3 separate regions of the Homo sapiens genome follow, and regions 1 and 2 are each linked to region 3. The links are contacts of gene promoters, found by promoter capture Hi-C in human tissues and cell types (Jung and others, 2019). All regions are on one chromosome and are shown on one strand. Each heading gives the region's core, a stretch centred on a gene start or on the middle of the fragment in contact. The rest is flanking DNA. Distances are from core to core; before and after follow the strand shown.

The links. Contacts are between HindIII fragments. The study calls those that stand out against the background at their distance.
Region 1: a contact is called between a fragment that was not itself captured here and the fragment with the promoter of PTPRG in region 3, in 1 of the 25 tissues and cell types used here (thymus).
Region 2: a contact is called between a fragment that was not itself captured here and the fragment with the promoter of PTPRG in region 3, in 1 of the 25 tissues and cell types used here (thymus).

The regions. Positions count from the first base shown.
Region 1 is chr3:60,741,401-60,745,074 of GRCh38, forward strand. The region is part of intron 4 of FHIT (fragile histidine triad diadenosine triphosphatase); the gene reads right to left. Among named protein-coding and RNA genes, the nearest start is that of MIR548BB, 130 kb to the left of the region's middle. The HindIII fragment of the contact is 4,055 bases long and covers 1-3,674 here.
Region 2 is chr3:60,836,728-60,840,641 of GRCh38, forward strand. The region is part of intron 3 of FHIT (fragile histidine triad diadenosine triphosphatase); the gene reads right to left. Among named protein-coding and RNA genes, the nearest start is that of MIR548BB, 220 kb to the left of the region's middle. The HindIII fragment of the contact is 4,995 bases long and covers 1-3,876 here.
Region 3 is chr3:61,560,009-61,563,825 of GRCh38, forward strand. It overlaps PTPRG (protein tyrosine phosphatase receptor type G), which reads left to right and starts at 1,563. Exons shown (of 30, transcript NM_002841.4): 1 at 1,563-2,364. The coding sequence starts at 2,280. RefSeq lists an enhancer at 1-340. The HindIII fragment of the contact is 9,021 bases long and covers 1-3,817 here.

The DNA.
Region 1 (3,674 bases), core at 750-3,249, 820 kb before region 3:
TCAGCAAGTGGTCTGGCAGAAGCATGCAGGTAAGGATGCCCTGAAGCAGGCTGTCAAGAAAACTGACCAATGAGAAAGGTGTTTTGTGCTCCACAGCTGAAGCCAATTCTGCTGGGACATCCCAAGACAGACTCCACTCGGACTCAACTGATAATACACACTTTACATCTGTCACTATCTGCCCAGGCATATTGACTTTGTAACATTCCCCCCAGGCACTTCAAGTCCAGTTTCGACTCTGTGACTTTTGCCTGTGGTCACTTTGCCTGAAATGCCCTTTCTCCTTCTCCTTCTTATCCATTCATTAGGATCTAGCAAAATGTACCTCCTTTGAAAAGCACTTTCTGTAGCCCTCAGGCACAAGTGGGGATGGCTGTGTTGGACCAGAAAAAGCAACCATTGAAATTTCCAAACTGAATCTGTACTTTGATTTATTTCAGTGTGGTATAATGTATGGTATAATATATGGCAATGTTTTCCAAGTCTGACTGTACATCACAGTGACCTGGGGGACTTTTGAAAAATAGATTCCCAGGCTCCCCTCCAATTAAGACAGCAGGTCAGAAGGTTGCAACTCAGGAAGCTTTACTTAATGTCTAGAAGTTTCCCAGGATATTCTGATGCATGAACCGTACTTGAAACAATAGTCAGACATTGCTACTTATCAGCTGTGTGATTTGGGGCACTCTGAGCTTGTTTCCTCATCTGTAAAATAGCGGGGAAGTAGGGGAGTGTCACAAGGTCTTAGAAAGGACCACATGAGGGAATGAGTGCAAAATTCTTAAATGATGCCTCAGTAAGTGAAATTATGATGCTAATTACAACGAATGTCCTTAAAAAGCTACTTTTCACTTCCAATAGTCCAGCTTGCAAAACCTTCCTCTATCAGAGAAAAATTTAGTGAAAGAGTAAATGGGCTTCACACCAGGATGATAGCCTGGAAAAATCAAAAGAGACATTGAGACATTGCCCACATAGAAAGCAGGGGAAGAGCATGTTCAGTTTTTCTGAAGGTCTATATTCTTCATTCCTACTGTCCATTTCTCCTGATTAAAAGTCTCTCCCAATAGCTGAGACCATTAACAAATATAAGCCCATCAAATGGTAGCTACCCCACTTTGTAAAATTAGGCTTTTGTGTCTCTCATAGAATAATGTTCTAACACTTCACTACCTGTAATAAAGTATTTGCACCACAAGAAAAAAATGTATTTCATGACCAGCAGGCTACAACCAGCATTCTGCTTTTAGGAACCCATGCGTTTGATTGTATCCTAAGTTGGTAATGAGTCACCACTTTTGCATTTAGTTAAGGACACCAAACAATGACTCTGTGAACCTCAGCTCAGACTGCCCCTGAGTCCTCAGAAGATGCCTAAATATGGACTGTTCTGTAGCGCTTAAGGATATCAAATGACAGTATACCATGACAATCACAACTAATCGAAGTCCCCTGCAGAGTAGTTCCTCATAAAGAGATGGAGATGGAAAAGTAGGAACGTTTTTCAATGCTATGCAGAAGGAAAATAATACCTACTGACCATATTCATCCTTTCAAAGGTCTGCCCTGAAGGCAAGTTGACAACACCCAGGCTTGGTTCTCCCTTTTGGAAGAGCTAACGCTAGGAGAGTTCACCCTTGCTCCCTCTGGCGGGAATCAGCAGAACAGAGCGGGAGGCACTGTGGCATTAGGATTGCAAACCCTGGCTTCGGACACAGTGCTGCTTGAATCAGAATCTACACTGCAGCTGGGCAACTGGCTGAGGTCACATTTTTAGGCTCTGAGCTGCTTTCTCTATTTGCAAAGTGAGAATACACAGCTTCTAAGGTCATAATGCAGATCAAATTATATATAAAGCACTTAACATGTGCTCAGTAAAAAGTCATTGATCTAATTATTGTTGTACTTTATTGTCATTAATATCAAGGGAATGACAGCATAGTGAGTCTCCTAGGGATGCAGGTCAATAGATGTTGAACTGCTATTATGCAGCAGGTACTGTGCTAGGTCCTGGGTAATACCAGAGCAAACAAGATCAACACAATCTGCACCTCCAGGAAGCTTATGGTCTAGTTCAGAGGTAGGAAAAATGTGTTTTGTTTGGCCTGCACCTTGTGTATAAACACAAAACATAGAGCAAACATTTTAAACTTGGATGACTTCACACCACAGTCCAGATTTCTGGCTTCTCTTTGAAAACATCAGAAATTCTGAGAGTAAGGGAGATTTCTGTCCACATGCCAAGCCTTCTAAGTCCCAAAGCACCAACCTTCCACTGGAGAGTGGCCTGCTGGCTCTTCTCATTAAGAAAAATCTCCCTCTGGCTACACATGATGAGGGGCCTGGAGGAATTAAGAGAGATGAGGTAGCTGAGGACACAGGTCCAGGGGACCAGAACTGAAGCAAGGAAGGAGAAAGGAGACTCAGCGCTGGTTCTCTTTCACGGGGTTTTTTTGTCTCTCAGCTCAGCTCGCTCTGTTTGGCTGGACACAGAAAACCCTGGAGGAGAATTCTGATTCCAACTTGCTCTTTGCACAGTTAATTATTTGGAGCTCCCAGAAGGTTGGAGAGAACAATGACTTCCCCTGCAGTGGCAGCTGGACTAGCTTAGTTCCCTTTTCTGCCCCCAGGGGTCAGAACCCAAGGAAGGGGGGCTATTTGTTTTGGCCTTAAACCAAATCTGCCTAGAGACACAGAGCGATGCTCTGACCTGAGACCACAAAAGCTACTATTTCAATGCCTGGTAAAGCTCCTCTCTCTTGCCGTCCACAGCAGTCTACTGACGAAAAACGCGTTTTCCCTATGCAAACTGTTTACTTCTCTCCTTTGCAAATTGGAAGTAATGTAAAAAAAAAAACAAAACAAAACAAAAAAAAAAAAAAACAGAAAGAAAAGAAAAGAAAAAAACCTATATGCACAAGAATTCCATCTCTCCTTGCAAATAAGATATTTCACATTTCCTTAGGCAGATAGCATGCAGACAAGTAGGGGAACTAATTGGGATGGATCAGTGAAAACAACGAAAGCTCATTTATACACAACTTGCTAAGTGTCCACAACTTTGTTCTAATAGGGGATCCATGACAAGTCCCTCAAAAACAGAGAAACAGGAGAGAATAATTTACACTTTATAGTTGTGAGCCCTGTAACAGTAGAACAACCTTCCTGCAGTCCCAGAGAGATTGTCCCCACATCTAACCAAAACCATTACCATCAATGGTGTCCTGCATTTTGAACAGTTGTTAATGAAGTCTTGCCTGACCCAATACAGAGTGAAATGGGTGTAGTTGCTGCTACAGGCTGCCTTCTAGCCTTCCTGCATCTGAATACATTTTCTCTGTTGGCTGTTCTGATAGAGATTCATCTGGAATTCTTAACTAGATAAATCCCTCAATGACAAGGTAAGGCCCATCTTCTGATTAAACTTGTATTGAATTTATTTATTTGGCCAATCATGTAATCCATATTTATTAGGTACCTTTTAAGCACCAAGCATTGTGCTGAGTGACGGGGATATCAAGGTGAGTCAAAACAACCATAGTCCCTGTCCTTAGAAGTCCAGAGGGGCTGGGTGCAGTGGCTCACACCTGTAATCCCAGCTTTTAGGGAGGCAGAGGCGGGAGGATAGCATGAGCCCAGGAGTTTGAGACCTGCCAGGGCAATATAGGAAGACC
Region 2 (3,914 bases), core at 129-2,628, 720 kb before region 3:
CCAGTAAAGGGGAAATGGTCAGATTCCCGCCCAAAGCAATCACTTTGATTTTGGGGGAAGGCAGGGGTTTAAAAAGGGAAAACTTGATAAGGAAGGCATGCAAGAATTGTACTAAGTATAATATCTGTGTGTCTTGTTCTGGTAGCTATCTTGGGTCTCAGTCTACCTGGATGGTGAGTCAAGACATCTGGGAATATCTTTACTTCCCCTTTATTCCTGAGGATATTTTCACGGGCTGTAGGACACTGCTTTGATTGTTGATTATTATTTCATTCAGGACTTTGAATGCTTTAAGTTCCTGAGCAGCCATGGCCAGGTTTTTAACTAGCCACTTTGAAGTAATCTCTGGAATTTTGCAGCTGGGTCTCCAAGCTTATTCCGCCTGTCTCAAGATTAGCCCCTGGAACTTCTAAGAAGGCACAGTAATTAGATACTAGTATATACTTAGACAAATGTGAAGGGAGTATATATGGTGAAAAAGGGAGGGACGTGGAGCCTATTTCTAGGCTGAGGAAAAGGCTTCTGCAGTTTTTCAAGGTTGTATCTTGAAAACCAAGAGAAGAGAAAAAAATGTTTTAAAATGCATTTGGAAGTTAAGTTGCCTAGTTACAATATTGGTAATTTGTGTCTTTTCTCTTTTCTTTGTCAGTCTTGCTAGACTGTCAGTTTTATTAACCTTTTCAAAGAACCAGCTACTCTTGTTTTCCTTTGATTAAAGTTTGCATGATACATCTTTTCCCATTATTTTACTTTCGTCTATTGTTATATTGAAAGTGAGCTTCTCATAGACAGAATATAGTTGGGTCATATTTTTTAAACAATTCTGCTAATCTCTTCCCTGTATTATAAGTGGTATATTTAGACCATTTAACTTTAATGTAATTATTGATATTTTAGAATTTACACTGCCATTTTATTTTTTGTTTATTTTCTGTTTGTTCTCTTTGTGGTTTTCTGTTTTCTTTGCCCAGACTTCTTATAAGCTATTTGAACACTTTTTGGAATTCTGTTTTGATTTATCTAAAGTGTCTTTCAGTGCATTTCTGTATATAATTTTTTAAAGGTTTCTCTAGGTATTACTTTATATATTTATAACTAAACAGTTTACTGGTGTCATCATTTTACCAGTTTGAGTAACATATAGAAACCCTATCTCCGCACTTTGCATCCCTTTATCTTCCCCATTTATAATATAATTATTTTAAATACTTCCTTTACATGCATTTACATCCACATCAGAATATTGCAATTTTTGCTTCAAACTTCAAACACAATTAGAGCTCTCAAGAGTACAAATGTTTTTGCTATGTTTTTTTCTTCCTTTCTGATGTTGAAGAGATCCATTTTTAATTGTCTTCTTTCCAATTAGATAACTCTTTTCTTTTCTTTCGAGGCAGAGTCTCACCGTGTCATCCAGGCTGGAGAGTGCAGTGATGCAATTATGCAAATTCTTTTAGTTTTCCGGCTGGGCGTGGTGGCTCACGCCTGTAATCCCAGCACTTTGGGAAGCCGAGGCAGGCGGATTGCCTGAGCTCAGGAGTTCGCGACGAACCTGGGCAACACGGTGAAACCCGTCTCTACTAAAATACAAAAAATTAGCCGGGCGTGGTGGTGGGCGCCTGTAGTCCCAGCGACTCAGGAGGCTGAGGCAGGAGAATCGCTTGAACCCGGGAGGCAGAGCTTGCAGTGAGTCGAGATCGCGCCACCGCACTCCAGCCTGGGCGACAGAGCAAGACTCCGTCTCAAAAACAAAAACAAAAACAAACAAACAAACAAACAAAAAACACAAATTCTCTTAGTTTTCCTTCATCTGATAATATTTTTACTTCCCCTTTATTCCTGAGGATATTTTCACAGGCAATAGGATACTGGCTTGACTGTTGATTGTTATCTGCATTCAGGACTTTGAAAGCTTTAAGTTCCTGAGTCTCAGCAGAAACTCAAAAATAATACATGTAGGAAGAGCTAAAAAAATATACAATAAACCGGATCCTATCGAATTTAAATGTCACCAGGCTACAAGAAACTGATTCTGGCAGAAAAAATAAACATGTGAAAAATAATTACAATAATGTGTGATAAGTGCAAAAATGCAGGTATGTACTTGTCACGATGCTGACACACAGAGAGAATCAGCACTGCTTGAGAGAATCAGTGAAAACTTCTCAGAGATGTGTGAACCAGGTTCTGAAAGTTAGGTAGTAAAAGGACTTCCTGGGTGAAGGGGAACCCAGCACGAAAGCCCTGAGAAAAGCGGAAAAGATGGTACATTTGAGAATCTGTGAGACTGAATGCCTGGCTGAGGTATAGAACACCCATTGGAACAAGCAAGAGATGCAGTAGAAAAGACAGCTAAGGGAAGGATGCTGGGCTAGAGGGCCTCATCCTCTACTAAGGAGTAAACTTTATCCTGTGTACCACGAGGAGCTACCGAACAGACGAAAATGGTGAGTGTAATATTTAAAGCAATGATTGCTACTATAACACTCTTTTTAAAGTAGCTTTTCCATGAATTATTAACATTATCTTTAGTCTAATACGTATCAAAATTTAGTTTATGGACTGGTAGGATGTGTTAATGGCCAATAAAAGTAAAAGACTCAGCCGATTCCCTGCCTTCTACACTCCATTTTACACACACTCCATCCTGCCTGCCGAATGACTTCAGTGTCTCTGTGACCAGTGAGTGAAGCAGCATGCAATGAGATCATGGCTAGATGGCAGCACATTCAGTGAAGTGCTTCAGCTTTCCTGTTGCTTCTGATTCCCTGGCATTTGTCAGTGTCTGTCAAAACATTAACATTTCTTAATGTATATTTTGCATTATTTACTAAATGAAAATTTTCCAATGACAGTGGCTGAGAAAAAAAAATCAGATTTACATACAGTATGTCAAGTTCACATTCGATGCCCCAGAAATGCCCAGTCCCCAAAGACCTCTAGGGACTGCAGCTCATTTGTTGTCCCTCTCCCTCTCCCGTTTATTATGCTGACCCTCTGCCCAGCCACATAGCTCACCCCACCCCCTTAGAAGCATCTAGAGTTGGCTCTAGACATGAAATGGAATAGATTTCTGCATTTACATAACTGCTATCGCACTTCTGGTGAAAAGTAGTTTCAGAAAAACACAGAAAAAAATAAACAGAAGAATAAAAAGTGTCTATGTGATAACATAAGGGCTTATTTAACTACGTCTTTATTTCCTTTACAGTCCAACTATTTTTTTTTTAAAACTGCATGCCACCTTCATGCTGCCTCTCAGAGGGGACTTGATCTTATTTAGACCCGGTGGCGAGGGTCCTTCAGCTCCGTGAGGAGCTCTCTAGCACTCAGTCCTCTTTAGAGGAAAGATATCTTCAGAGCCTAAAGGCCTTGAAAGAAATGACACATTTTTAAAAACAGAAAAACAAGCATGAAAGTGGCCCATCAGAAATGAAGGTGTGAACTAGAATACAATAGACAGCGAGGAAGGAGCCAAAAATCCTCACCCAGGCAGGCCAGGATATATGCAGATAGGGAGGAAATTGGGAGGCATTCCTTTGCTAATAAAGATGATTTTTCTTCTAATTTTCACATCTTTCATGATGTATCTTTTGTTTTTTGTTTTCTCTCTATGACTGCTGTTCTAAAATAAGTGGGCTTTAAGAATATGAACTACAGTCCGCATGTTTGCCAGCCCCATATTCTGCGATGAACTTGACATGTGAATGAATCAATTCTGCAGAGGTGAAAAGTTATTCCTACAAAGTCCCCAGTTTTCCTTGTGAGAAAGATCCCTACTTACCTGTAAACTTGTTAATTAAATGTCAAAGGTTTTTATATCAAGGACAATAACACAAGCCAACCTGGGAATCTGCTTGTCTGAAATAGGTAAAGAGTGTCTGTGTTTATTTAGAATTGATTGTACACTTTCC
Region 3 (3,817 bases), core at 313-2,812:
TCCGGTTGGGATGTTTGGGTGGGTGGAGGACCCTGCCGTGTTGGGATGAAACAGCAGGGACACGTTTAAAACACAAGAACCATGCGCGGTGGCTCACGCCTGTAATCTCAGCACTTTGGGAGGCTGAGGCAGGCGGATCACAAGGTCAGGAGTTCGAGACCAGCCTTGCCAAAACGGTGAAACCCCGCCTCTACAAAAAAAACCAAAATAAAACAAAAAACAAACAAAAAAAACCACCAAAAAAATAATCAGCCGGGCGTGGTGGCGGGCGCCTGTAGTCCCAGCTACTCGGGAGGCTGAGGCAGGAGAATCGCCCGAACCCGGGAGGCGAAGGTTGTAGTGAGCCGAAATCGAGCCACTGTACTCCAGCCTGGGCGACGGAGCGAGACTCCGTCTCAAAACAAAACAAAACAATCCCACGTCAAGATCGCTTTGAAACACAGGCAGAAAAATTAGGCAAAAAATGTCAAACGGCTAATTACCTTGGCTCAGTTACACATTTACTCGAAAGCCCGCCTCCCCCACTTTTAGCCCCAGCGTTAAGAATGTAAAATAGGGCGCTTAGAAGTCTAAGCGATAAAGATCTTCTTACCGAGAGCCAAGGGACAAAACTCATTACAGATAAGCCTAGTCCTCCCATTTCCCCCGGACGCCTCTCCCCGATTGCTAAAGAAGCAGCCGCTCCCCGGGTAGCTGCCAGGAAATCAGTCCGGCCCCGCGGCGCTGCTTTCACCCTGCAGGGTGTAAGAGGCGCACTTCCTGCGCCCTCCCCGCGGCCAAACCGGGGTGCGGGAACCTTCTCCAGAGAAGCTGCGAGTTGGGGAAACTCCGCCACCGATCCATCGTGGCGCCGGGAAAGGGGATGCGGGGCTCGGAAGGGCTAGATTTCGCAATCCTGGGATCGACATTCCTCCCCTCCCCCACTTTCCCCAGCCTTGGACTGGGCCAATGAAAGCCCGAAAAAGAAAAAAAAAAAAAATTAAATCTCAATGTAGCCGGAGTGCAAAGGCCGCTCGGCTTTGTTTCCCGGCGGGGGAATGCGCTGTGTTGGAGGCGCGAACAGGAGCCGCAGACGGTGAGCCTCACCGCTGCAAATGCCAGGGCAGTGAAGCCGAACAGAAAACCCCATCGCTTTAAAAAGGCAGCTGTCCGCCCTCCCCCTTTCCCCTCGCCAGGGCGAGGGGCCCCTCAAGTCCGGGATCCGCGAGCTGCGCGGAGGATCTCGCCAAACCCGAGCACCGTGCGGCGTCTTTTAAGAGCTCGAACAACGGGAATCCAGCAAAAAACAAGCCGGCCCCAGAAGGCAGCCTCCCTCCTCTCTCCGCGCACGGGCTACAATCGCCCCCAGTCCCCAAACTGTCCCAGTAGAGGCCGCGCGGAGAGAGCAGAGCCGAGGGACCCAGCGCAAGGCGGGAGCCAAGCGCGGCTGCTTTAAGAACGCGGAGAGCGCGCGCCCGCCGCCAGCTGGCCCGGGCTGCGCGCCCCCGCCGCCACCGCGCGCCCCCTGTTCGCTCGCTCCTTCGCTCGCCGGCTTTAAAGTCTCTGCCAGGATCCATGCTCACATGTTACTTCCTGTATGGAGGCATGGCCAGTTTCCAGCCCCGCGCTCTTCGTTCCTTCCCAGCCTGCGCCGGAGCCACAACTTTCAGGAGCATGGACTGAAGGCGCCCTCGCCCCAGCGCCCCTCTGAGATCCTTTGTGTTTTCCTCCGTTTCCTCCGGCCGTTTCTATTTTGGGGGGCTCTCCGCTCCCCCTGCCTCTCCCCTCCCCTTCCCCTCTCGCAAACATGCCTCCTTCCTTCCCGGGGCCCTGGAAGGAGCTGCCTGCCTGAAGCCCGGAGACGCCGCGCCGCGCTCAGCCCCGCCGCCGCCCGCCGGCTCTCGGGCTGTGCTGCGCTGCCGACTCAAGTTGGGGATCCTCGGCTGCTCGCCGCCGCCGCCCGCGGTCCCTGCCTGCCCCAGGCCCGGGGCATCGCCGCCGGCCGCCGACTCCGCGCCCTGCCCGATCGGCTCTCTCCTTTTTAAACGGAAAGCAGCCTTTCTCCGCCGAGAGGATCGTCCCCAGCGTGGCTCTGCGTTCCCGGTCACTTTTTGAGATTTTCCGGGGGGCGCTCGGCGGCTTCCCGGATTCCAAGGGGACTCGGGCCGCCGAGCGCGGGGGGCCCGTGGAGCGGGCGAGCCGGGGAAGCGCCCCGGCTTAGCGGAGGCTCGCACGGAGGCAAGAACTTATTCAACAAGTTTACCTCCCTGCTTTCCTCTTTTCGATGTGCGTTTTCGGACATGCGGAGGTTACTGGAACCGTGTTGGTGGATTTTGTTCCTGAAAATCACCAGTTCCGTGCTCCATTATGTCGTGTGCTTCCCCGGTGAGTGCCGGCCGCCGAGGGGATGCGGCCCCGGCCGGCGCGCGTTGGGGATGCGGAGTTGTCGCCTGGGCGCGGAGCTCCGGCGCCCGTCCGGGAGACCCTGGAGAGGGTGGAGGGTGGCCCGGCGCCCGGATAGGAGAAAAGGATTGCTCCGCTGGCTTGGATGATGTTTAGGGAGGCAGGCTAGTGGTCGAGGAAGGTGGAGGCAGGGGCTGGCCGGGGAGGGGGCTGGGGGACGCGGGGGTCTGCTCCCGCTCCCTTTTGGGGGTCCTGGGGAGCTGGAATCGGGAGAAAGGGGGACTTGCTTTGCTGACTCGTCGCCGATCGGGAGAACTCGAGTTGTGGGGCGGTTGGGGAGACTGAGGCCATGGAAAGGATGCTTCTGTGGGTTTGGGGGGCCCGGGATGAGCCCCCTCGCTCTGGCGGGTATTGAAGGAACTCAGAAGGTGGGGGTTTGCTTTGCTGTTCTCCATCCCTTTGGGAGGGCTAGGTTTCGGGGAATGGAAGTCGGAGGCTGGCTGCGGAGGACTGAGGATGTGTGGGGAGCAGCCTGCGTTCTGGGTCGGGGGCGTCCTCCCTCTCTCTGGGGGCTGGGGCGCGGGCAGCACTTCGGTGCCGGCGTGAGGCAGCCTCCTTGGGCGCAGTGAGACGGCAGGGCGCAGGCGGTTTCGGAGAGATCCGTGTCTCCCCTAGCCCCGGCCCGTGGCCCTTTCCCTCCGCTGCTCTGCTCGATTGGATTGCCTGGGTCTGGACGCGGGGAGGGGGCGGGGGCGGTTTCGGCGGCCGGGGCGGTTTCGGCGGCCGGGTTGCTGTTCGCGCCGGGGCTGATTTTTTTCCTGTCTCGCGCGCCCTGCCTACCTTCATCTTTGCCCTTTTGCAGGCTGTTCGCGGCTGGCAGACCCAGTCTCGCTCCTTTCTGGCCAGGTTAAGACAGGAACAATACTGGCCGTTGATAAGAATAAATCACCGCACGTAACGGTGTGCGGCTCGGCGACCCTCCACTTCCAGCTCTCAGCTGGCAGTTCCCCCTCCTCTCTCCCCTGGGGAGGGCAGAGGCCAGCTGCCTCCCTCTCCTCTCTTGCAGGTCCCCCGGGCAGCAGCCCCGAGCTCCCTCGTAGCTGTCCCTTGGGGTGGAGGCCAAGTCCTGCCCTAGCCCGGGGAAGGGCTGGAAGAAGGGGTGATTTGCTTTTCATCCCTCGCTCCCCTAAGGACAGAGAATTCCCCGTTTTTCTGCCCTCTCATCCATCAACTCCTGCATACCCGGAGGTGGAGGTTATCTGAATCAAGAAAAAGAGGAATGTGCCCCGAGGTCTCCGCTCTGCCTGGTTACAGACGCCTGTCCTCGGGCGGCTGGAGCGCCCGTTTTTGGTGCAGCGGGTCCCTTAGTCCCGTCGTGCGACCCGGAGCAGGGCGCGCGGGAGCCCTCGTCGCCCTTGGGGATCCCCTCGGGGGA